Regions from separate parts of the Homo sapiens genome. Here all the other regions are linked to region 1. Evidence: promoter capture Hi-C in 16 types of primary human blood cells and fetal thymus (Javierre and others, 2016). All regions are on one chromosome and are shown on one strand. The core of a region is centred on a gene start or on the middle of the fragment in contact, and the rest is flanking DNA. Distances in the headings are between cores, read along the strand shown. Region 1 holds the start of PTHLH (parathyroid hormone like hormone). Region 2 has its middle 180 kb from the start of FAR2. Region 3 has its middle 220 kb from the start of FAR2. Region 4 has its middle 300 kb from the start of FAR2. Region 5 has its middle 320 kb from the start of FAR2. Region 6 has its middle 340 kb from the start of FAR2. Region 7 overlaps LOC105369711 (a long non-coding RNA gene).

Region 1 (3,288 bases), core at 574-3,073:
GGAGATCTTTTGCTTAGAAGAACAAAAACAGTTCCAGATTTCATATCTAAATTGCACTTTTTGCTGTTTCAGAACTGCTGGGAGACATCTGGAGCCGGTCCCAAAAAACCCGCGCACAGGAGAGATCCCCCTTTTGAATTGCAGAGGGGGACCGACACTCCTGGAGCACGCACACGGCCCTTTTCACTCATGGTCGGGAGTCTAACCCATCCTTTCTCTGATACCCTACCTGCTTGTCCCCTCCCCCTCAAAAGTCCCAGGTTACAGATTCTTGGAAGACTGTATCCGAGTCGCTGCAGCCAGCGGACAGATGCAGTGGAACTATGGTTATGTGCTGCTCTGCCTGGGAGAAGCGACGGGAAAGCCGAGGTTCTTTCCAAAGCTAATGGGCGGGGAAGAAAGACTGCTCGGAATTACTGGGTAGTATCATCTAGGAAAGGATTGCAGCGGGAGTGGATACCCTCCCCAGGGCTCCTCTAACTTTTTGAAAAGAGCGCGAGTGGACTGGGAACCATTCAAGGGATATTTGTCTTCTAGGCAATCCTGCTGGTAGGGTTCATTAGTTTCTAGAAGGCTAGTGTGATTTAGATTCTTGAGATGATTCAAGGAATGTGGCCTTTATCAAGCCCGACTTTCCGGGTGATGCTCCACATATTTTACCCAGGGTGGGAGAAATAGCACGCTGTCACCGAGACCCTCGCTCATCGGGGCTCCCACTGGTTCACTGCAGCTAGCTAGCAGTTAAAGTTTACTGCTTAGGTTGGGTGGGGGGGCATATTTTCTTAGAAGCTCCTGCCTTCCTCAGTTCATTACTGTAAACCCCGTACCTTAAAAGACTCGGCTTCTTCTCACTAACAAAGAAAAAAAGCAAAACAAAACCAAAACACACACACGCACACACACACACTCTCTCTCTGGGAATTTCCACAACTTCCCTTGAATGTGTAAGGATTTCTAAATGTTAGACTTGTTTGGATAGTATGAAAGGACAAAGTATCAGCACTCAGAAATGTCAACCTTTGAACCTCGAACACTTTCTGATTTATAAAAAGAATCCTTCCAAAAAGATGCAGGAGCCCTAATGTAATCGTTAGATCTGAAGGGGGAAATCTGTAAAAAAAAAAAAAAAAAAAAAAAAAAAGTCAATCACAAATGAGCCATTTAATACTTGCAAGTTGTTTAACATTGAAATGATAATATTTGCTTCCACAATAAAAAGTCCAAGGTACCTAGCCAAGTTTCAAACTATCCAGGCTTTAAAAAGTCAACCCTTCTCCCAATAGAAGGTTAAAACAAAAATCAGATTGAAATTATCAAATCACTTATGTTGTAAATAAATTCACTTTACTTTCAGAACATTATAAATTAAGGACTGGCATCAATAGACTGCTTTGATTTATGTTGCTTTTTCTACTAATTAAACAAAATTAACCCCCCACTCCTTCCCTCCTTTCTTTTTCCCCACACACTTTTCTGGTGTTAATGGCAAAACATCTATCAAATATTTTTAGAATTTCCTCTCCTCCACAAAAAGAGAAAATATAGACACAGGAAAAATAAATAGTCTTTATATACTCGGAATACCAAAGTTCCCTCCTAATTTATTACTTCACCTTTTCCTTGATTTACAATCTTCTCTCTGCTCTTCTGGCTGAAAGAGGGAAATCTTCTCAGCAGTCTTTTCCAGAAATATTTTTTGTTGTTCTTCAGAAAACATAAAATTAAATCTTAAAATGAATTAAAAGCTTCTTGAAAGGAGACTTCTGTTCCCACTAAAGGCAATTATTAGAAAGCAGGTACCTCTTCCAAGCTGCCCTGTTTATTACTTTCCGTAGAAATTCTCCTCAATATATACCCAGGACCCTGACTTTTTGCCTGTTTTGGAAAGGATATTTTCTGACATCATAATCTAGTTCCTAACATAACTGAGTAATCTCCATCATAATAATGCAGAGGATGCATGACTGCAAATGAGACACAGCAAGAGCACCCCCTACCACCTCCCTCCCCCCCCCGTCCCCCCAGCCCACACACACACCTTTTTTCTAAGGTTTAGAAATAGAACAAGTGCCAATAGAAGCTAAATGTTTGCTTAGGCCTTGCTGTCATGTAAATGCACCTTAGCAAATGGGAAGGCCTGCCTCTAATCTGAAGTATTTCCATGTTTAGCATTATAAGATCTACACCTACACAAATGCCTAGCCCATGAGCACCAGGCTTCCATCTTCCCATCCCCAGTGGCAGTTTATTACAGTATATCAAATTTTAAAAGAGGTTGAAAAAATTTTAAATGCATTACTCTTAAATTCAGTTGAATACCCAGTTAATGTATATCTCCTGTCATAGCTTAGAAAAAAGTAAATAGCATTTATGCTTAGCCTCTTCATCCTTCTTTCTTCTTTCCTCCTTAACCCAAACAGCAAACAGATATACATTATAAACCAAATATGAATCTATAGCACTTTAAACAGTGCACCTGGGCTTGGGAATTCTCTTATTACCAATAAGCATCCAGATTTCACATTTACCAATCTGTAGCTGCAAGCTATGTCTCTAAAATCCCCTGGAACCAAACAACTAAACTCATCCCATCTCTTCTCCAAACTTTTTTCAATGTTTACAAAGAGACGTTGCATAATCAGCTCAAGTAATGCTCTCATTGGATTCCATTAGAATGTGGCTCTCATCGCTCGCCTGGACTGAGACTTGAGAGGAGGCTGTTGCCAGCTGACCTCAAGGTAGCAAAAAAGAAAAAAAGATGTAATGCCTTCAAACCCCAAGTAACAATAGGAAAGGGTGTGTTTCTTTATTAAATCTTTTTGTAGTTAGGTGAGGATAAGACTTCTCCAGGAACAGGGCGGGCTGCTAACCTCTGGAGGAACTGCCTCAGGGAGGAGTGTATAGATATGCATCAAGCTGATGGGATCCTCCCATGGGAAAAGTGGGCCTCACACCCTTCCTCACCCTTCCCTACTTCCTGGGCAATGTTCTGCTTCCCCCAAACTGAAGCAGGAGGCCCAGAGAGGAGGCGGTTTCCTGGGAGGAACCCAAACCAATGTGAGATGAGAAGGTCTTTAGGAAATGGGGGTCTCTGAGAACCGGTTCTTAAAGGTCAAGCACTTGAGCACCTCGCAAACTCCTGACAATTGAAACATATCTGAAGAGTCTTCTTCAGATATGTCTCTGTGTGTGTGTGTGTGTGTGTGTGTGTGTGTGTGTGAGAGAGAGAGAGAGAGAGAGAGAGAGAGAATATGAATGTGCAGTGTCCCAGTCCTGATCTCCTGGACT
Region 2 (3,288 bases), core at 383-2,882, 990 kb after region 1:
GACAGGACTAATGGAATAGATGCATATATAAAGGGGAGTTTATTAACTTACGTGATCATAAGGTCCCACAATAGGCTGTTTGCAGGCTGAGGAGCAAGGAGAGCCAGTCCAAGTTCCAAAACCAAAGAACCTAGAGTCCAGTGTTCGAGGGCAGGAAGCATCCAGCACAGGAGAAAGATGTAGGCTGGGAGGCTAGGCCAGTCTCTCTTTACACGTTTTTCTGCTTGCTTTTATTCTAGCCATGCTGGCAGCTGATTAGATTGTGCCCACCCAGATTAAGGGTAGGCCTGCCTTTCCCAACCCACTGACTCAAATGTTAATCTCCTTCGGTAACACCCTCACAGACACACCCAGTATCAATACATTGTATCCTTCAATCCAATCAAGTTAACACTCAGTATTAACCATCACGTACCCCCTTCCCATTTAGTGAATATTATGAATATACTGAGTGCAATATGATATGCAATTCTCCTAAGCAAAAATTCTAATATGTAACTCTAGCACCCAGAGTGCTGTTAGAAGCATTTTGGATATAGAATCATAGTAAATGAAGTTAAACACAGATTAGCAATCTGAAGAATTAGACCATATTCATATCTCTGCTGCTAAATTGCTGATGACTTGGGCAAATCTGACCACATCCCTGAAATTTAGATTTTTTTTTAAATGGGAAATTGGAATTCTGATTATTAATCTGGGAAGATATGCTTATCGGTGTTTATCCCAATTATGCTTGCTGTCACTTGAGAAGGCTTCCTTCCTTCCTACAAAAATGGAAAGTGGAGTGTTTAGATGGAAGGCAAAAATTATATTCCCAAAGCTGGAGCTACAAGCATAGTCAACTAAGCCCTCACTAACACCAGACAAGAGGAAAAAAAAAACCAAAACACCACCACCCACACTGCCTGAGAAAAGTGACCTGACCCACAGATGCTCTTTTCCATGCCTTGTGACTTGTTGAAAAGTTTGACGTGCTAGATGCTACAATCTAACATGAGTTTTGGCTTAAAGGAAACAAGTGCAAAGAAATTCTCTTCTGTTTTCTTAGAATAATCTATGTATGGAGGCATATATGCAGAAACATATACCCTAGTCCTTAGATTTTCTCTTTAGTGGTTAAAATAAAAGTTGCAGCGGGAAATGACTGCCTTATTAATGAGGCATCAGGGGCAGATAGAGGTGCTGTTTGGCTGACCTTCAATTATCCTAATTGAAAATTCATAGCTTGGTGCCTTCTTTGATTTGTCACCATGGGAGGTATGTCTTCCTCCTTAATGTCACAATGCCACTAAAGAAACTGTACTCTGGGAATAGTCATTTAACATGAGTGGAAACAGAATTTCATTTAAGAAAAATCAAAGAAGTAATTCACAAATGATTCCCACAACTCTTTGGAGAAGCCTTGGCAGCCACAATAAGTTTATCATGTTGTTGATACAGACAACAGTCTAAACCTCCCAGGGGTCTGTGGGAAATGAAGCCCCAGGGGCAGGGGGGAAAATGAAGCTTTCTGGGAGAAATTCCCAGGCAACTTGTGAGTGTGGTTCTAAATAAGACTGGTGGGAATTTCCAAAGTAGACAGCACCTCAGGGGGCTGGGGCAGGGCAGAGGAATAAGAAATCTTTTTCTTCCTGGGTGGAGCCAGGAATGTTTCTTATGAGCAAAATCTAAGGACCCACAAGTTGGACTGGCTTCTTACAGCCAAGTTATAAATGATTAATTCTATCAAGGAAAAGAAACAGGGCCTCCTTGCTAAGCTTTGTAATGGGGTTCATATAAATTTGCGTAAAATACTATGTAGGATTAGTGTAGCCAGCCAGGAATTGAGCTACAGGAGCCAAGAGGAGAATGGGACCTCAGCCAACAGGAAAAGTGGGAGATGAAGTGGATCACGCTTGCCAAGCCAAGGAGGCTGGCCAAACCAGAGCTACAGTAGCATGGAAATGAGAAGTGAGAGTCCCACTCTTGAGGGGTGTTATCGTTATTATTATGCTGTTGTTGTTTTTAAAATAAATTTCCATTGTCTCTCCCCCTCAAATGATACTCTCACTACTTTCAAGTTCAGTAAAATATATCTTCACTAATAATGACAACAAGGAAGTTTGCTTGCTTTATAGGTTCAGTTTGGCCCAGCAAGACTGAGCAGAGACCCAGTGGGCTGGGAGGTGGAGGAGTAGGGAATACAGGTGGGCCCCTCAGCCCTACAAGTGCTGCAAAACAACAGGGAGAGTTGAATGTAGAACACCAAATCCACACCTTTTGCCCCAGAATCCCATATTAGAACCATGTCCAGGGAGTCAAAATAGTTTTTCCTAGGGAGTGGAAAAGTCTTCGCTTTGACTTACTCTTTCCATGACTTCTTCCTTCGTCCACTTTCTCAAAAGTTAGGAATGGAAGCTATGAACAGGTGTATCAAGATAAGCCCTATTATCCTCCTCCACAACTCCATTGTCTACAGTTGGGTTGTTCAGCCATATTGCTATTGGGATAAAAGCATCAGGAATTGGCCAGATTCCTGGGTTATGGTATGGCCCATTGAGTCCTCGCTTGGCATATATATGTGGCTGCAAGAAAGGCTGCCATTGTGGCCTGACTCAGTCAGTCCCTGAGATTACACCAATGTCACCCCCTCCCCATCTTAGCATGATGGTCCTGGGTGGCGACAAAGGCTCCAAGCAGCAGCAGCAGGTGTGTCCCACCCACGGAGGCAGTGTGCCCCTCCCTCATTTTTCTCCACACTCCCGAGATGGAGGTCTGAGCTGAAAGGCCCCCAGCAATCTGTCAACAGCAGCTCCTCCTGGACAGATGAAGGGACAGCCTCCTCCGGCCAAGCCAGTAGGAACTGCCCTGCTCCGTCTCAAGAGGGAATTATTTCTGGCAGTTCTTCCAACACCTTGTGCACAACATACACAGTGTACGAGTGCGAGAGGTGAACCTCAGCCCTCAGCTCCAAGGCCGTTATTCCAATAGGTCTCTTGCCTTGCATCCCGCCCCCATGCAAACACACACACACACACACACACAACTCCTGCACACCCTCAGCAAATTCTGCAGACTCCACTCCACATTCTTTTCACCTCCAGCTGGAGTGAAACTAACAATCTTCTCGTAAACACAAACTAAGAGGTTCTTGTTTTCTGGTAAGGGACAGGGTGAAGTCTGGAATTCTTCCCTAAGCCATCATGGAGGGAGCTCCCCTTTTGGAAAAGACAGCCTTGCCAGCTATGGCTGTCATCATAAATGCTTAGAAATGGATATTTCCAACCAGGATCCCTCTGTCCGAGG
Region 3 (3,288 bases), core at 214-2,713, 950 kb after region 1:
AAACTTCAGCAACTTTAATACTATTCATACCAGTAAAGAAACACAATTCATTAGAAAAAAATAATCTATACACATAAGGTAAAGCCTTTGCAAAGACTCCAAGTTCACAAATTTCCTAAGAATCAGCTGTGTGGGGCCACTTGATCACAAGAGAAGTATGTGAGAATGAAAATGATGACTTGAAAGGAATTCCAAAATCCTTTGCATCAAAGACATATAATGCGAATGGAAGGATGATGGCCAGAAGTTGTGTTGGGTTGAGTAAAGCACTGTATTTATTATATCATTATGTCATTTAGTCTTCACACCAAGCCTGTGGGACAAACAACACTTTGTGGGACATTTTCAGTGAGGGAAGAATTAGCAGTGACCTCCCACCCTCAGAAACTCTGACTAGTGCCATGGGAGTGTTCTTGGCTTGCTTGGAGAAGGTAAAGACAAGGTAATCCAAGGCTGCTCTTAGCCCACAGGCATTGCAGTTAGCAGTAATTACCTGGAAAATCAGCAGAATGATAGAGTTTAAAGAAGCCTCCACAAGTGACAAAGTTTTTCCTTGAGAATTTCTCAAGCACTGGAAAAAGGTAGCTTATTATATGTAAACATTGCTAAGGGTGTTTTTGTGTGAGAGTGAAGAGTGACATGTTTTGGTGGTAGGGGCAGGAAGGGAACATTTAGGGGACTGCAAGACAAGACCCAACAGGAATGAAATGATGAAAGAATGGCCTGTGCTGATGGGCAGACACAGTTGATTGAGAGGAGTCTGGAAACGTTTAAGCAAAGTCATGTAAATAGAACTCCCAAAAAAGTGTTTGGAAATAAAGAGCAAGGCGAGAGCCTCAGAGAAACATCCAGAAATTTCAGGAGGAAATTAGGTTAAACCTCAAAAATAGGAGTGAGAAAAGTGGAAATGCCAGAAGAATAAGATCAGCTTTAGAGAAAAAAAAAAAATCATTGCTCAGTGATGGTGATGACCTTCAAAGTTTCAGAGAGTCTTCTGTCAACAGCTGCTGACCAGATGTCCCAAAGCAAATGGTAAATGATAACATGTAACCCTCCCTCTCCAAGCGCTTCCCAGCCAAGGAACCCAGTCATAACTGTAATTCTCTGCAGAAGGCTCCCCAAACATCAAGTTTCATTGCCTCTAATCCTGCCAGGTTTTCATGGGGGAATTTGTTATTCATCCTCAGTGAAGAGTTTCCTCAAAGATCAACAAACTCTATCCTGGCAAATGTGACCCAGCCTGGGAATAGTGAAGGGAGCCAGGTCTCCCCAGGCTACATGTTATCTGGGTTCCCAAGAGTGGCCTTGGACTTTCTTCCAGAGTTGTGCCAGTGGGTGGCCTCCATGTAACCTCTAGAGAAGAAATGGTTCTTGGTGGAAATAACTATTGTTGGAAATAGATTCCAGTGCAAGTCTCAACACTGGGTCACAATGATGGTGGCCTTTGTTGGCATGGCCTCCCACTGGCAGTGGCAGCACATTTTCCTGACATCACCATTCCCAGGTGATACGGTTTGGCTGTGTCCCCACCCAAATCTCGACTTGAATTGTATCTCCCAGAATTACCCTGTGTTGTGGGAGGGACCCAGGGGGAGGTAATTGAATCATGGGGGCAGTTCTTTCCCATGCTATTCTCATGATAGCGAATAAGTCTCATGAGATCTGATGGGTTTATCAAGGGTTTCTGCTTTTGCTTCTCCCTCATTTTCTCTTGCCACCGTCATGTAAGTAGTGCCTTTTGCCAACCGCCGTGATTCTGAGGCCTCCCCAGCCATGTGGAACTGTAAGTTCAATTAAACCTCTTTTTTCTTCCCAGTCTCAGGTATCGCTTAATCAGCAGTGTGTAGAGGGACACCAGGGCCCACATTATTTTTCTGAGTCTCTTGCTGACAGTTATGTAGAGACAGTTGAACACCATCTTGGACTACTGTCCACAGTCGATGCTGTTGAGCATTTTTGTCGGAATTACTGTACATCAATCTGTAACTGAACGTGCTTAACAGCTTCTATCAATGCAATGAGGGACAAACCTAAGTAACACCACATCCATTGTTTCCCTCACTTAAGGCCATTTAACCCTAGAGCCACTGATTCTGTCTTGGCTGAGGATGCGTGTATGCTCTCACAAGGATGCTTCACTGGGAATAGAGATCCTCACTCCCTTAACTCAGCATCCACACTTGTCCAAAGACTCTGAGCACATATGGAGGAGGCAGCCAGATAGGAATTTTAATCAGCCTATAACCCTTATTAACTGTGTTACTTCTTAGCAAGCTAACTTATTAACAAATTTGGCTCATTCTCAGTTTCTTCACCTAACAAACGTTTTTACTCACAAAGTGTCTCTCGGGATTAAACAAAATGTTACCACTAATTTTACAGCACTTAGTTTTAGTCTCTGGTTATATATTCCTTGTCCTAATAGAAAAACATGAACCCAAACAGACAAGAATTCATTGGTATTTTAATCCACATGTTCCACAAGACTAGATATTTGTGGACAAAGGTGACACTGGGTGAGTGTCACTGGGAGAAGTCCTCTCTTCTTGGTATTGGGTAATGGGCAGCTGCAACAAGGAGATGGCTGGGATGCAACAGAAACAGGCCTCAGGTGAGGAGCCCACAGTCTTGATCACTCCCACTTGGCCATATGATCTGAGTGGGAGCCAAGGAAGCCAGGTCTGAGCCTTGACTTCATGCAGGTTTTAAATCCCAAGTGAAGCCACTCAGGAGAAGAGGCAGCCTTTGGAAATGAGACGAAGGAGTTCAGGTTACAAGGCCTGCAGGTGAGAGAGGAAGAGAACACCCCATTGTCACACGGGCATTCAGAGAGAATAATGACTGCAGTAGTGTCTCCTTTCTAATTTTTAACAGCACCAATCTCTTCAGAATCCATCCTTTTTATTAACGGAAGGGCTCCTCAGTGAGAGCTGTCTTCACTGAGGTAGCTAAGACATGCCTCAGTGTGTCTGGTGACTTGGTGGCCAGGCCTGCCAGAATTTGTATGAGTAACTATGGAGAGAAATTGTTCATCCATTCAAAACAGTCAGTGTTCATTGGGCATCTCTGAACTAAGTACTGCACAAAGCCACCATATACAGAGATGTAGACAGACAGTGTAGCACAAGAGAGCACTGGGCAGAGGAGCCTGGCCCAGTAGTGAAGACTTAGTTGAGAGATGAGAGGGCTGAGTTGGTCATGTGAATTGGGCTTTGCTATGAGTTCCCCAGTGATGTCCCCGAAGGGACAGTGCCTTTCTTCCTGCATGCTGCACAAGTTATAGCAGCC
Region 4 (3,288 bases), core at 457-2,956, 880 kb after region 1:
AAATTTTAGGGCTTCGAGAACCAAGTGACCACTCAGTTCATCCAGGAAACCACTACATAGTATCTGGCCTCAGAAAAGTTGCACTCCAGTTTAGGAGACAATATGAACTCCCATGAATTCCATGGTAAAATAAAAGGTGTAGGGCAGGTGCCTCCTTTAGCCACTGTTCTACTCATCTACTACCTTTCACAGCTACACTTGTTTCCGGAGAACTTTGCACTGACAATCTCTACTTTCTTCCTTCCCAACTTCCAGGAAGAACACCAAAATCTTCTAACTGTTCAATCCAAATAGGCACTTTGCAGTCTACATCTGACTGGTCTTTCCTGATGCATTCCACACTCTTGACAACTCCTTCCTTCTGGAAACTCTTCATATGTCGAGGATAGAGTATATTGTCTCTCCTTTCTCCTCCACCAACCCTAAAATCTCCTAAACAGATCTTCCTCCTGTATTTCCTATTTTAGTAAAGAACATTACCATCTATCCAATTAGTCAAGCCAGAAATGGCGGCTGATAGAAGATTTGAGGGTGGGGATCAATCACTAGTTCTTCCTTTTATTCACCTTTATGCCTAATCAGTCACAAAATCTTGCAGAATTTCTTTTATAACATCATATGCATCCCTTCTTCTGATTCTCAATACTATTATCCTGGCTCAAGGCCTTATCATATGTCACCTATACTATTGGAGAATCTATTGTTAAGCAGGTTCCTGGCTTTGAATGCACTTTCTGTCAATCTATCCTGCAGAAAAATTGTAACCAAGCTTCTTCCCCATTTAAAACACTTCATTGGCTCTACTCTCCTGTAGGAAAAACAAAGTTCTTAGCATGACACACAAGGCCTTTCACACCCTGGATGTTTATGTCTTCACTTTCACCTGCACACTAGTCATTCTCAACAGCCTGTGGTTCTGGGAGAGCATGAGAGTTATTCCATACCTTCATGTTTTTGTTCATCCTGGCCCAAACTCACTTATCTTTCTATAACCATGAATCCCCTCTTTATATACTAATCCACTTTGTCCACACATTTATTACCAAGCTGTTCGAGTTTTACAAAGGCAAGGATTAAGAAACAAATAAACAAAAAACTAGCAAGGCATATTTGAATATGAAATATTTGAAAAAGAATAATAGTTTCATTTGGTTGAACTGAGGGCTTTGGTAGTCCTCAGGTATGGAAGATGAAATGAGTAGTCATTTACAAATTTCGACTGGGGAAGGTACTTGATCAGATTTACATTTTTGAACCTTATTCCATTTGTATGTAAAAAGTACTTTAAAAGTCCATAATTATTAGGGCCTGTATGAGGGCAGGCAATGTACTAATAAAAGGAAAAGGAATTCTTCAAGAGATATTTATACAGTGGGATTAACAAGCCCGAGAGATTGATTAAATGAAGTGGAAAATTTATCCATTGATTCAATTACTGAGTATTAGGCATTGTTGTACTTTCTAGATATGCCAAAAAATTATAAGAGAATTTGCCTGCTTTTATAGAAACTCATTATAATGCAATACAATTTTCAGAAGTAGAATCAAATATAGAAAGAAATTTAGTACATGATAAAGATTGGATTCTTTAATATGTAGTTTTAGAACAACTGGATAATTGTTTGGGAAAAACATATAAAATTTTATTTTCCCATATACCACTCAACAAATTGAGGTCCAAAGAAATTAAATGGAAGATGTGAAATAACAAAAACAATAGAAGAGTCCTAAGTGAACAGGTATATACACTTACAGCATTCACAATCTTTCTAAACAGAACGCTAAAACAAAAACCACATAAAGAGCAATGAAGTTGAAGAAAATACTGTTTGTCACAAAAATGTAGCAATAGAGAAATAGTTACAACATAAAAGACAGAAAAAGAATTAATATGATACAGAAACTTTTGCTACAATATTACATACATGCTTTTGATTTGGCTTGTTCCAAAGGCTGTCAGGACAAAAACCTGCATCTAATGCCTGAGGATCTATCTGATTAAAAATGTGGGTAAAGGAGAACCATGAGTGTTTACTTGCTTTGTGAGGGTGTTAACTGAGTAGCTAAATAATGGTGACAGCTTTGTACAAAAAGAACTCCAGGAGTTCAAGTACCGGAGGCAGAGACTGGAGTTCCCTATTATATACTTTCTTTTTCAGGGGAAAAAAAGTTACCTGCGCCTAATCAAACATTTCTACTCTGAAGTTTCCCATTGCTATACGTTTGTTTTCAGGAACCAAATAATTTTTATCTATCAACTAAACAATTAATGAGAACCTATTATGTTCTAACTGTCCTTTACATAGTCAATACGGTTATATTCCTCAAAGATGAGTAAGATAATGACCTTGCCCTCAAAAACCTCATGGACAGAGACTTAAAGAAGAAATAATACTTACAATGCAAGTTGTATGTTACTGGCATGAATGTCTGAATTATTCTATGGTCCCAACCTGGCTGTGTTAATTACTTTGTGGAGGACACTGGAGCGAGAAAATGTACTGGCTATAGCACAAGCTCTCCTTTTTGGTGAAATGAGCCTCAGTTTGTGAGGCTGTCGGCATGACACCTTCTAAAATGTCACATTCCCTTTCCATGATGTTTAAGAGGCAAAGGGAGGTGGATTTAAGGGAGGAAGAAAGTGAAGCTTATTAGTTTGAATGAGGTCATTGGAGTCACTCTGTGGGATCCTTACAGAAGTAGAACAGAGCTCATTGCAGACACACGCTAGTTAAAATGACTTCAAAGGAGTCAGGCAACATTTTGGTGAATAAATATATGGAATATTATTGTGTTTTCCTCAAATGTGTTTTTATGTGATAAACCTAGAGACTTTTGAATTTTGACTTGAGCACATTAAACATATCCTATGGCCCAAGGGCTGTAGGCATCTCCACATGCATGTCCCACTGACACTCAAAACTTCATCTACTTAAGCTGGAGCCCATGAAGCTCATCCAAGCCCTGCTGCCTTCTCTTCCTGGTTTGCATTTGCTATGTTTACCACCTCCCAAACACTCCCCACTCATATCTCTCTCATTTTCATAAGAGTTCTGAGCCTCCTTTCTTGGATAGTTCTTCCTCACTCCTCTTCAAAGGTTTCTTGGGAGAGGAAATACAGTATGCATTCCTAATTGCTGTTTAGAGATTTCTGCCCAGCATTTAGCCACAAAGCCAATTAAGGAAGGAGTAGGAGTCTTGACCCCTTTCCTAGATTGATAGATTTTCAGTAGGCTCTGGATGGCTGTTTTTTGTTTAGCTTTGTTTTGCTTTACTTTACCCAAACTC
Region 5 (3,288 bases), core at 546-3,045, 860 kb after region 1:
GTCCCAGCTACTTGGGAGGCTGAGGCAAGAGAATCACTTGAAGCTGGGAGGCAGAGATTGCAGTGAGCAGAGATCATGCCCCTGCACTCCAGCTTGGTGACAGAGGAGACTCCATCTCAAAAAAAAAAAAAAAAAAAAAAAAGGAGCACAAAGGGTGAAAAGGGAGTAAATATAAATATTGTAAGGTTGTTATATTACAGATAAAGTGACATAACATTAGTTCACGGCATAGTGAGATATTTTAACATGATTTTTATAAACCCTGGAGCAATCAACAAAAATTAAAACAAAGATAAATAGATAATAACCCAAGAATGGACATAAAATGAAATAGTAATAATTCATCAATAAATCCAAAAGACAAAAGGAAAAGAGGGGAAAAGAAACAAAGAACAGACGAAGACAAGTAGATTCCAAGGTCAGGCATTGTAAGACTGAATAAAAAAGCAAGACCCTTATGTTGGAAATAAGAAATTTACTTTAGATATAAAGATGAAAGCAACTTAAAAGGGAAGTGGAAAAATGCATAATATGAAACACTATAAGAAAGCTGGAATGATCTCATTAACATCAGAAAAGTTACTGTTCAGAACAAGGAATATTAGCAGGAATGTTATCAGAATATTACATTTTGCCATGATAAATATTTCAATTCAGAAGACACAATAGGGTTAACTATGCATACACTCAATTATAAAGCTTTCATATAGAAGCAAAAATTGACGGAACTGAAAAGGGAAACAGACACATTTATAATTATCCATAGTTAAGTTGGAGACTTAAACATTCTCCTCTTAGGAACCAGTAGAACAAGCAGGCAGAAAATCAGAAAAATGTAGAAGCATTGAATAACATTATTAACCATATTTACTCAATTGATATTTCTAAAACATTGCATGAAACAACTGCCAAATATACATCCTTTTAAAGTGCATATGAGGCTGGGCATGGTGGCTCACACCTGTAATCCCAGAGGCCGAGGTGGGCAGGAGTTTGAGATCAGCCTGGCCAACATGGTGAAACCCCTTCTCTACTAAAAATACAACAGAAAAATCAGCCGGACATGGTGGTACATGCTTGTAATCCTAGCTATAATCCTAGCTACTCGAGAGGCTGAGGCAGGAGGATCGCTTAAACCTGGGAGGTAGAGGTTCCAGTGAGCTGAGATTGCGACACTGCACTCCAGCCTGGGTGACAGAGTAAGACTCCGTCTCAAAAAAAAAAAAGAAAAAAAAAAAAAGAAAAAAAATGCGCATGGAGTTAAAAGGATTGAAATCAGAAATAGTTTGTTTTTGCACCGCTGTGGAATTAGATTAGACATAAACAACAGAACAATACCCAGAATAACCTCAGCATTTTGAATTTTAAGCACTTCTCTAGTAAGTACCCATGGTTAAAAAAGGAAAAAAAAAAAACAAAAAACAGCACAGGAAAATTAGAAAATGTTTTGAACTGAATGAAAATGAGCCCCTGTTACACCTCTGCCACCTCTGGTGCAAACATGTGCATGGACGCCAGCAAATCTGCCCTTCCCAGTGCCTCACCCCTGCTGCACAGTCACCACCACTGGCGGGAGCTTACAGAGAAATGTCACCACCCCACTCCCACCAGTGGCCATCTCAAGCCAATGTGCATGCACTTCATCACACTGCTGTGGCTGCTGGCATGTGCAAGCAAGCATGTATCCCACTGCCACTGCCCTGATGAAGTACTTTGCCTGACACCCCCCCATCAGAGTGTTGTGACCTACAGACTGAGAACACCTCGGCCCCTCCAACACTACAGATTCCTAACCTCAAGGGGCCAGAGAACAAAGCAAGGGGCTTGGTCCCAGACCTTCAGAGCCAAAGCACACATTCCAGGACTGCCAAGCTGAGCCATGGTCCCCTAAAATCTTCTAGAAGCAAAGCCAGCTGACTGAACCCACCTTATACCACAATCAAATACCCAAGGGCATCAAAGAAGATAAAAGCAAAAAACCCCACCCAAAGGACAGCAACTGCTAAGATTGAACAAACATCAGCTCACACAAATGAGAAAGAGCCAGCACAAGAATTGTGGCAACTTAAAAAGCTGGATTGTCTTCCTACCTCCAAATGGCCACACTAGTTCACCAGCAGTGGTTCTTAATCAGGCTGAAGTTGCTGAAGTGACTGAAATGACAGGCACAGAATTCGGAATATAGATAGGAATGAAGATCATTGAGATTCAGGAGAAAGTTGAAACCCAATCTAAGGAAAACAATAAAATGATACAGGAGAGGAAAGATGAAATGGCCGTTATAAGAAAGAACCAAACTAATTTAACAGAGCTGAAAATCTCACTTCAAGAACTTACAATACAATCACAAGTATTAACAGCAGAATAAACCAAACTGAAGAAAGAATCTCAAAGCTCACAGACAGGTTCTCCAAAATAACTCAGACAGACAAACATAAAGAAAAAGAATAAAAATGAATGAACAAAACCTTTGGGAAATATAGGATTACGAAAAGAGACAAATTCTATAACTCATTTGCATTCCTGAAAGAGAGAGAGAGAAAGAAAGAAAACAACTTGGAAAAAATATTTGAGGACATGGTCCGTGAAAATTTATTGAACCTTGCTTGAGAGGCTAATATTCAAATTCAGGAAATGCAAAGAACCTTGTGAGATACTATACAAGACAATCATCCCCAGGACACATAGTCGTCAGGTTCTCCAAGGTCAAAATGAAGTAAAACATGTTAAAGACAGCTAGAGAGAAGGGGCAGCTCACCTACAAAGGGAAGGTCAACAGGTAACAGCAGACCTTTCAGCAGAAACCCTGCAAGCCAGAAGAGATTAGGGGCCTATATGAAGAATTCTTAATGAAAAGAAATTCCAACCAAGAATTTCATATCCAAGCAAGCTAAGCTTCATAAGTGAAGAAGAAATAAGATTTTTTTTTCAGACAAGCATATGTAAGGGAATTTATTACCACCAGACATGCCTTAGAAGAAGTCCTTAAGGGAGTGCTAAATATGAAAGGAATGACTGTTACTGGCCTCACAAAAACACACTTTAGTACATAGACCATTGACACTATAAAGTAACTACAAATCAAGTCTGCATAATAATCAGCTAACAACATGATGACAAGATCAAAACCCACATATAAATATGAACTTTTTTTATTCATCATATTTACTTTATTATTCTTTTGATGTAGACAAGGTCTATATTGATATTGTCTGTGTCTTCAGTGATATTGACAATTTGTGTTTTCTTTTTTTTTTCCCTTGTGAGTCTTGCTAAAGATTTATTTTT
Region 6 (3,288 bases), core at 301-2,800, 830 kb after region 1:
CATCTCATTTGGTATACATATAAAATATATTAGAATATTTTTATCTAATAAAATACCAAATATAATATTTTAGATATGGACTATTTCTCACTAATATAGAATTATTTAACTCACTAGTTGTACAAAAAGGAGCCCAGAGCCTTTATTTGTGCTTTTTTGACTCAGCATTTTTAGTGAGCTGCTAATGATCTGATCAACAGCTCTGCTGCTTTTCAAAACATGGGGAAGCAAGTACTTCACCTTTCAGGGCATCACGCTAATTCCAGGACTTTTATGGAGATATCTTACCAAGGTTAGAAAAACAGCTCTTTTATATTTGTTACAGGTCTGATAAAATAGTAAAACATGAAGTTTTTTTCAACCCTTGTTGCCAAATTGTTGGAGTATCTATGACGTTTTACACAACTTTTAAATTTTTTGTTTAAGCACAATAAAATTCCCAGTGAAACTGGAAATGCGCAATGTGTAGTTTTCATGTGGTATCTGGGCTTAATGGCAAGATATGCAATTTTGGTTTCCTTTGCCGCAACATCTCTTGTAATAAAACTGTATTTTAAGAGAAATTTCTTTATCGAATCTTTGAGATCAAAAGAGCTGAAAGTGAACTATATTCATTGGTTATTATATGCAAAGCTTCCTAGATAGATGTCAGGAACAGGGAGCAAATTTATCACCTTACTAATTTGGATGCAAGTATTATCTGAGGTCAGTCACATTTCTTTTTAAAATAATATTTCTCATTCACAGCCTCATTTAAAGTAGATTTAAATTGACCTTAGCACTTATTTTATCATTAATTTTCAAATCTTTATCAAAACTTTATCATTATTTGATAATTATTAATTATCAAAACTTTATCATTAATTTCAAATATACCTCAAACAATTGTGAATCACCGGCAAAAATTTGCATTCATTAATACCTAGAAATAAATGTTCCTTCATCTTTTTTGCCATCTCATTAAGTTTGCATTTTTATAATTGCACAGGCATTTACTTTGACATGGTATTTGAGACTCATCGCTTCTTTTTGGGCGGTGGAGGAACATCACTAAAATGCATATTCAAAAATTGTATTTTGCTTATATATCTGTGTTTGGTGAATAGTAATACTATTTCTGGATTTCAGCTTTAGAGGCATACATAATGTCAGGATAGAGATGGCATAATAAATGATACTTCTGTATTTTCCCCTGGAGTTCTAAACTGGTTGTGAAATGAAAAATAAATCAGATAGGAATCATGTATCACATTTATCATACATAAAGCTGATATTGGAATGTTGGGCTTTTATTTATAAGCAAGTGGACTCATTACTGAACTCCAAAATTAGGCAAAATTAGTCACCTAGACACTGGCAATACTGGAAAATCACAGCTCCCTCCTCCCAGTTTGGAGAAAATGAACCCAAGTTTCCTACAGGCAGCTAGTTCCCAAAGGGATAAGATACATCCAAGTCTAGGCAGTGATTTACAAAATGTGGTTCTAGCATTATCATCATCATCATCATCCGAGAACTTATAAGAAATTCAAGTTATCACGACCCATCCAAGACCTACTGAATCAGAAACTGGGGGTAGGGCCCAGCAAATCTATTTTCACAAACCCTCCAGGTATTTCTGAGGCAAACTAAAGATTGAAGATGATCAGTTTGCACCAGTTTCTTCTTTCAAACTGACCAGTTATACTGAGTTATAGGGAATATTTTTACATGATATTGATGACAGGGAAGTATCAGTGGGAGTGAGGAAGAAGTGTTTGGTCTCTAAAACTAATTTAGAATTATAATTTTTTTTAACTTTATTTGCTGTTTTATTTTAGTATGGTAATATTATTGGAAATTCCAGATCACTTCAATAGTTTATGGGCACAATAGAAAATAATAGATGACACTGGATTGTTGTAGAAAATGGTGTAAATAGTTGGCCTAAATATGGAAGATGGATTAAGCCTTCATAATTATGCTTTATTTAGGAATCCATGTTTACATCGTTTTGCCTTATTTTCTTTTTCTTTTCTTTTCTCTTTTTTTTTTTTTTTTTTTTTTTTTTTTTTTGAGATGGAGTCGCGGCTGCGGCCCGGGCTGGAGTGCAATGGTGCAATCTTGGCTCACTGCAAGCTCTGCCTCCGGGGTTCATGCTGCCATTCTCCTGCCTCAGCCTCCCTTGCATTATTCTCTATAATTGACATTCAGGGCTTCTCAAGTTAATATCCAGGATCCAGAGCACATTCCCCAAAGCTACAGAAATCATACCTCACAAGACTTATGCTAATATGTGAAATAAGGCGATACAGAAAAGCTGGGTTTAATTAAACACAGTCTCCTTCAATTAGTGACTGTATGTATTATCTTATGTAAATTACTGAACCTCTCAGGCTTACTATAAAAAAGAAACAAAAACTTGGTGTTCTTTTATCTTACAGAACATGTGAATTATATAATGCACCCTTTTTAAAAAATGCACTAGGAAGCTTAGAGAAAAATTGGGAGCCTGTGTATGGTAAATTCATCTGTTAGCAATAGCTTAAACATACCCTAAGAATGACCCCCTATGGCAGATGCACCCGAATGTAAGCAGTTTGCAAGCAGTTGCTTTTCTGCCCAGCCTGCCACCACTAGGCCATATGGTTCTCCTGCCCAGCCCACTGTCCCTGGACTCTCTCCCCTGTATATAAACCCCCAATAAAACTCGTGTCTTTTTTTTTTTTCTGGCCCTGGAACTCTTCTTAGGCATCTTAATTAAACCTGGTGACATTCCCACTGGAGTCAATAGGGATTGGCATAACTGCCAGTTTGCAACGTTTATATGTTATCATAAAGCATTTAATTCCTTGTATTAACATTCTGCTTTTATTACAGTTTTGCCCTGATCTCTTTTTCTATTTATTTTACAGATTTACAGCCCACATTTATTGTGTGCTCACTGTGTAACGTGTTCTGTGTTAAGTGCTTGATACTCATGCATTTGCAAAAACTCTCTGAGGTGGGTAATTATTTTACAGAATACCATTTTATAAGCATCCTTAAATGCTTTTGATTGTAGCAGTAAGTAAATAGATGAATACACAAGTTAATCTCTAACGCTCATCTATCTAATTCTTATATAGAGAGTAGTCAAACTATACATAGTATACACAATGAGATGAGATATTACTTAATTCTTTATCAGTCTGGTTTGCATAGGGGACTGGTACATGACATGTTCATGAGTGGATCCATCGGATAGCTGAACATAGCACATTCTGCTTAACCTTCTGAATAACACGAGAACAAATCTATCACATGCCC
Region 7 (3,288 bases), core at 406-2,905, 780 kb after region 1:
AGCTTCCTAGCTAGCTGGGACTACAAGTGCATGCCTCCAAGCCTAGCTAATTTTTTTTAATGTTTTTGCAGAGACAGAGTTTCGTCATGTTGTCAACGCTGGTCTTGAACTCCTGAGCTCAAGCGATCCTCCTGCCTCAGCCTCCCAAAGTGCTGGGATTACAGGCATGAGCCATCATGCCCCATCCAAACTATTTCTTAAAGTGGAAAAGTCTGCCATCTAAAACTTTCTGCAGTATTTCTGATTCCCAAGGTATTTGCACTACTTCTGTGTCAACATAAACTTCAAGTGAAGGTATCACATACATGTACTGACTTTCTTTAATGGTTTTTGGGCCTTTGTTTTAATGAGGATTTCAATCAGCTTTCCGTCTACCTTTTTAGTGCAGGTTAGATCTCTGGTGTGTATAGTAGTGGCCATCATTTCTTGTTATTTGTTTCATATAAAGTCCTCTAGTTTTCTGTGGGTAAAAAACTGCAATACAAATCTCTAAGATTCACAGTGTAATTAGCACATGTGGATCAAAGTGGCACAAGTCACCCAATTTCTGGATCATTCCTGCCTCAGCTTAGGATGAAAGTCAATACTACAAATTCCAAGGTGAAAATCTTCTAATGGCTTATAGATCTGGCTGAAATACAGCAAAGGGCATTAGGCCATTCAACTCATTAATGTGTGGATTGGTAAACTTTTCTGTAAAGTGCCAGATGTTAAGTATTTTACGCTTGTGGACCATACGGTCTCTATTGCAACCACTCCACTCTGCCACTGTAGCGTGAAAATAGTCTTAGACAACATACATAGTGAATCTTAGCTGTGTTAAAGTGAATTAAAATGGAGTCTAGGCCTGAAGAATCGCTGTGGGGACAAACCCAGTGAAGCCTCATAAGTGACCTTAGCTTTGCTTGATTTGCAAACAGAAGTGAAATGTAATTTGAGCTGTTTTTCTTGTAGTGCCTATATTAAGGAAAAACAGAACTTAAGCTCAATCAATCAGAAGCAGCCAACAAACTTATAATTCTACAACTAGGGACTTTCTAGTGGGACAGACCAGGTAAGGCAACTTTATAACTGTAATGAAATATTTCCTTTGTGTGATTTCAACATTCATTCTATGAAAACCTGTCACTCAGTCTTCTTCAATGGAGCCCCTAGACCATTTCTGGTTTGAAGCTGCCCAATTCATAAATCACCATTTGCTCAAATAAACTCTTTAAATTTTTATTGTGCCTCAGTTTATGTTTTAACAGCTGTGTTTCAGTAAAACTTTAATTTTTCACTAAAACACGCAGCAGGCCATAATAGGCCATGGGTCGTGGTTTGCTGACCCCTGCACTCATGCCTGGACAGCTGGGGCACAGAAGCTGTCCTAAAGTGCAACTTCAAAAGAATTAAAGGAAGCAGGCAAGGTCAAAGATGTACATGACCTCTATTAAAGCCCAAAGCTCAAAACATGCTTCATGTAACCAAATATTTTATTTGTATGATTTTAACATTCATTACAATCTACCATGATTGGAAGCTTCCTGGGGCTTCATCAAATACCTCTAAGCATAGTTTTGTTTTGTTTCCATCTGCAAATTTCATTCCCTGTCTCTTTCTCTCAAAATTAATGGCACTAGATATTGGGATCATGAGGCAAGGAGGACCAATAATAACAGCACTTTTTCCTATCCAAGGTCTGAACCATTTGAGACATAATAAAAAAGTTGGCCTGTAGAAACCAATATTTTGCTTTTTTTACTATGGAAAGCTAGATCGAAGGCCATGGCTTATAACTGCTGACAAGTAAGCTTCTCCCTATTAAGCATCAAATTTAGGCTTTCTCATCAACCGAAAACTTATGCTCCCTACAGGCAGTTTGCATTCAAGTAAGAGAAAAAAGACCAGGGTTCTGCTTACTTTTCCTATTCCTATTTACCATCCAGGTAAGTGATTCCATCTAGCCTGGGCAGGAGTGATGGATGGAGCCCAGAGAGTCCAATTAGGGTGTCTTCCAGAGAAGAAGGAGGAAGTATTCTCTTCAAACAATGTCAGCTGAAACCTTCAACAATGAGGTTGAAAGGATCATTTTGTGTCTAGTTGAATGAAGCAACTGAAGATACCATAACAGATGGAGGAAGCCAGTGGGAATTTTAGGCTGAATGACATCCACAGACCTATTTAAAATCTCTGTATTTTAAAGAGTTATTCTGCTCCATTGCTCCCCAGAGGATGCGGGAAAGTCAAGAACATTCTGAAAGCTATGATTTGATGAGGTTCCAGGTTTCTTATCTTTAAAGTTATTTATTTTGCAGTAGCCCAACCCTTGAGAGAAACTCATGGTCCTGCAGTATGATTGACAACTCTTTTTTTTTCTCCCTCTACCAGCACCTACTACACTGATGATTAAATAAAAATCTTCAAAAAATATTGTTTAAATAAGTGAATGAATGCAACCCTTCTAAGGTCTTGATTTCCTACCTTCACCATCTTGTTTCAATAGTTAACAATACGTTCCTTCTAAATGATATCTGTCAGACTACTCTTAAAGGATCCCACTCTTCAGTTCATAGACATTTAGATTCATCTTACTATCTTACTTTTCTTGATTAGTTGCTCTTGAGGAAAAAAGAAGGCAAAGTAACATAAGTATCCAATGCATAGCATATAGCCAGAGGTGATGATGTAACTGAAAACTGACAATAATTCTTGTAATAAAGAGGCATCTGCTAATCTGTTGCTAATTTTTATTTGAAAATTGTTGTTGTTGCTTAGGCCTTAACAAGGTCAGGAAAATACAGAAGCTCCTTTAAAAAGGGAAAATGAAACAAAAAAGTAAGTTTCATATTTTCCTTGGTCTCTTGCTTAAGAAGGTTACTGTAGGAAATGTAAATAGACCACAGGAAGCTTTAGAAACTCAGCTCTTTGATTGAAAAAATGGAAATTCTGTTTTTTACAGAAATAAAGTAATTCAATGAAAATACAAAATACAGTTGGTTATCATTTAAAAAGGGTTTGTTTTTTGGATTATGGTTTCTTTGATATAGTACAACTCTGGCACAGACCATTCCAAGTGTATTTCTGAAAGCAAAATAAATGAAAACTGTTTTCTCTCTTCATTAATGTTTTGCTGTGTTCTATTTGTGGAATTCCAAGAGGAGCATGCAGTTTTCCTGGATCGCTTTCAGAGAGGGAAGGATGAATGGGATGAGGGAGTTGACCCCCAAAGAAAAGAATGAGTCAACATGAAGAAATAATGCTTCTCCCAGGCTTGCATTTGGATCCTCTAATTGTAAAAAATAACAC

What was found. The method cuts DNA at HindIII sites, captures the fragments that hold promoters and counts their contacts. A CHiCAGO score of 5 or more calls a contact.
Region 2: a contact is called between a fragment that was not itself captured here and the fragment with the promoter of PTHLH in region 1, in 2 of 17 cell types (M0 macrophages and endothelial precursors). The highest score is 8.5, in M0 macrophages.
Region 3: a contact is called between a fragment that was not itself captured here and the fragment with the promoter of PTHLH in region 1, in 1 of 17 cell types (M2 macrophages). The highest score is 5.3, in M2 macrophages.
Region 4: a fragment that was not itself captured here is called in contact with the fragment with the promoter of PTHLH in region 1 in 3 of 17 cell types (M0 macrophages, M2 macrophages and M1 macrophages); the score reaches 9.3 in M0 macrophages.
Region 5: a contact is called between a fragment that was not itself captured here and the fragment with the promoter of PTHLH in region 1, in 2 of 17 cell types (M2 macrophages and M0 macrophages). The highest score is 7.7, in M2 macrophages.
Region 6: a fragment that was not itself captured here is called in contact with the fragment with the promoter of PTHLH in region 1 in 1 of 17 cell types (M2 macrophages); the score reaches 5.1 in M2 macrophages.
Region 7: a fragment that was not itself captured here is called in contact with the fragment with the promoter of PTHLH in region 1 in 1 of 17 cell types (M2 macrophages); the score reaches 5.3 in M2 macrophages.

The regions. Positions count from the first base shown.
Region 1 is chr12:27,970,910-27,974,197 of GRCh38, forward strand. It overlaps PTHLH (parathyroid hormone like hormone), which reads right to left and starts at 1,824. Exons shown (of 6, transcript NM_198965.2): 1 at 1,614-1,824; 2 at 1,018-1,110. The HindIII fragment of the contact is 3,977 bases long and covers 1,744-3,288 here.
Region 2 is chr12:28,964,706-28,967,993 of GRCh38, forward strand. No RefSeq gene overlaps it. Among named protein-coding and RNA genes, the nearest start is that of FAR2, 180 kb to the right of the region's middle. The HindIII fragment of the contact is 251 bases long and covers 1,508-1,758 here.
Region 3 is chr12:28,925,147-28,928,434 of GRCh38, forward strand. No RefSeq gene overlaps it. Among named protein-coding and RNA genes, the nearest start is that of FAR2, 220 kb to the right of the region's middle. The HindIII fragment of the contact is 8,630 bases long and covers 1-3,288 here.
Region 4 is chr12:28,852,405-28,855,692 of GRCh38, forward strand. No RefSeq gene overlaps it. Among named protein-coding and RNA genes, the nearest start is that of FAR2, 300 kb to the right of the region's middle. The HindIII fragment of the contact is 1,878 bases long and covers 768-2,645 here.
Region 5 is chr12:28,831,616-28,834,903 of GRCh38, forward strand. No RefSeq gene overlaps it. Among named protein-coding and RNA genes, the nearest start is that of FAR2, 320 kb to the right of the region's middle. The HindIII fragment of the contact is 2,196 bases long and covers 698-2,893 here.
Region 6 is chr12:28,804,821-28,808,108 of GRCh38, forward strand. No RefSeq gene overlaps it. Among named protein-coding and RNA genes, the nearest start is that of FAR2, 340 kb to the right of the region's middle. The HindIII fragment of the contact is 1,838 bases long and covers 632-2,469 here.
Region 7 is chr12:28,748,317-28,751,604 of GRCh38, forward strand. The region is part of intron 2 of LOC105369711 (a long non-coding RNA gene); the gene reads right to left. Among named protein-coding and RNA genes, the nearest start is that of FAR2, 400 kb to the right of the region's middle. The HindIII fragment of the contact is 271 bases long and covers 1,521-1,791 here.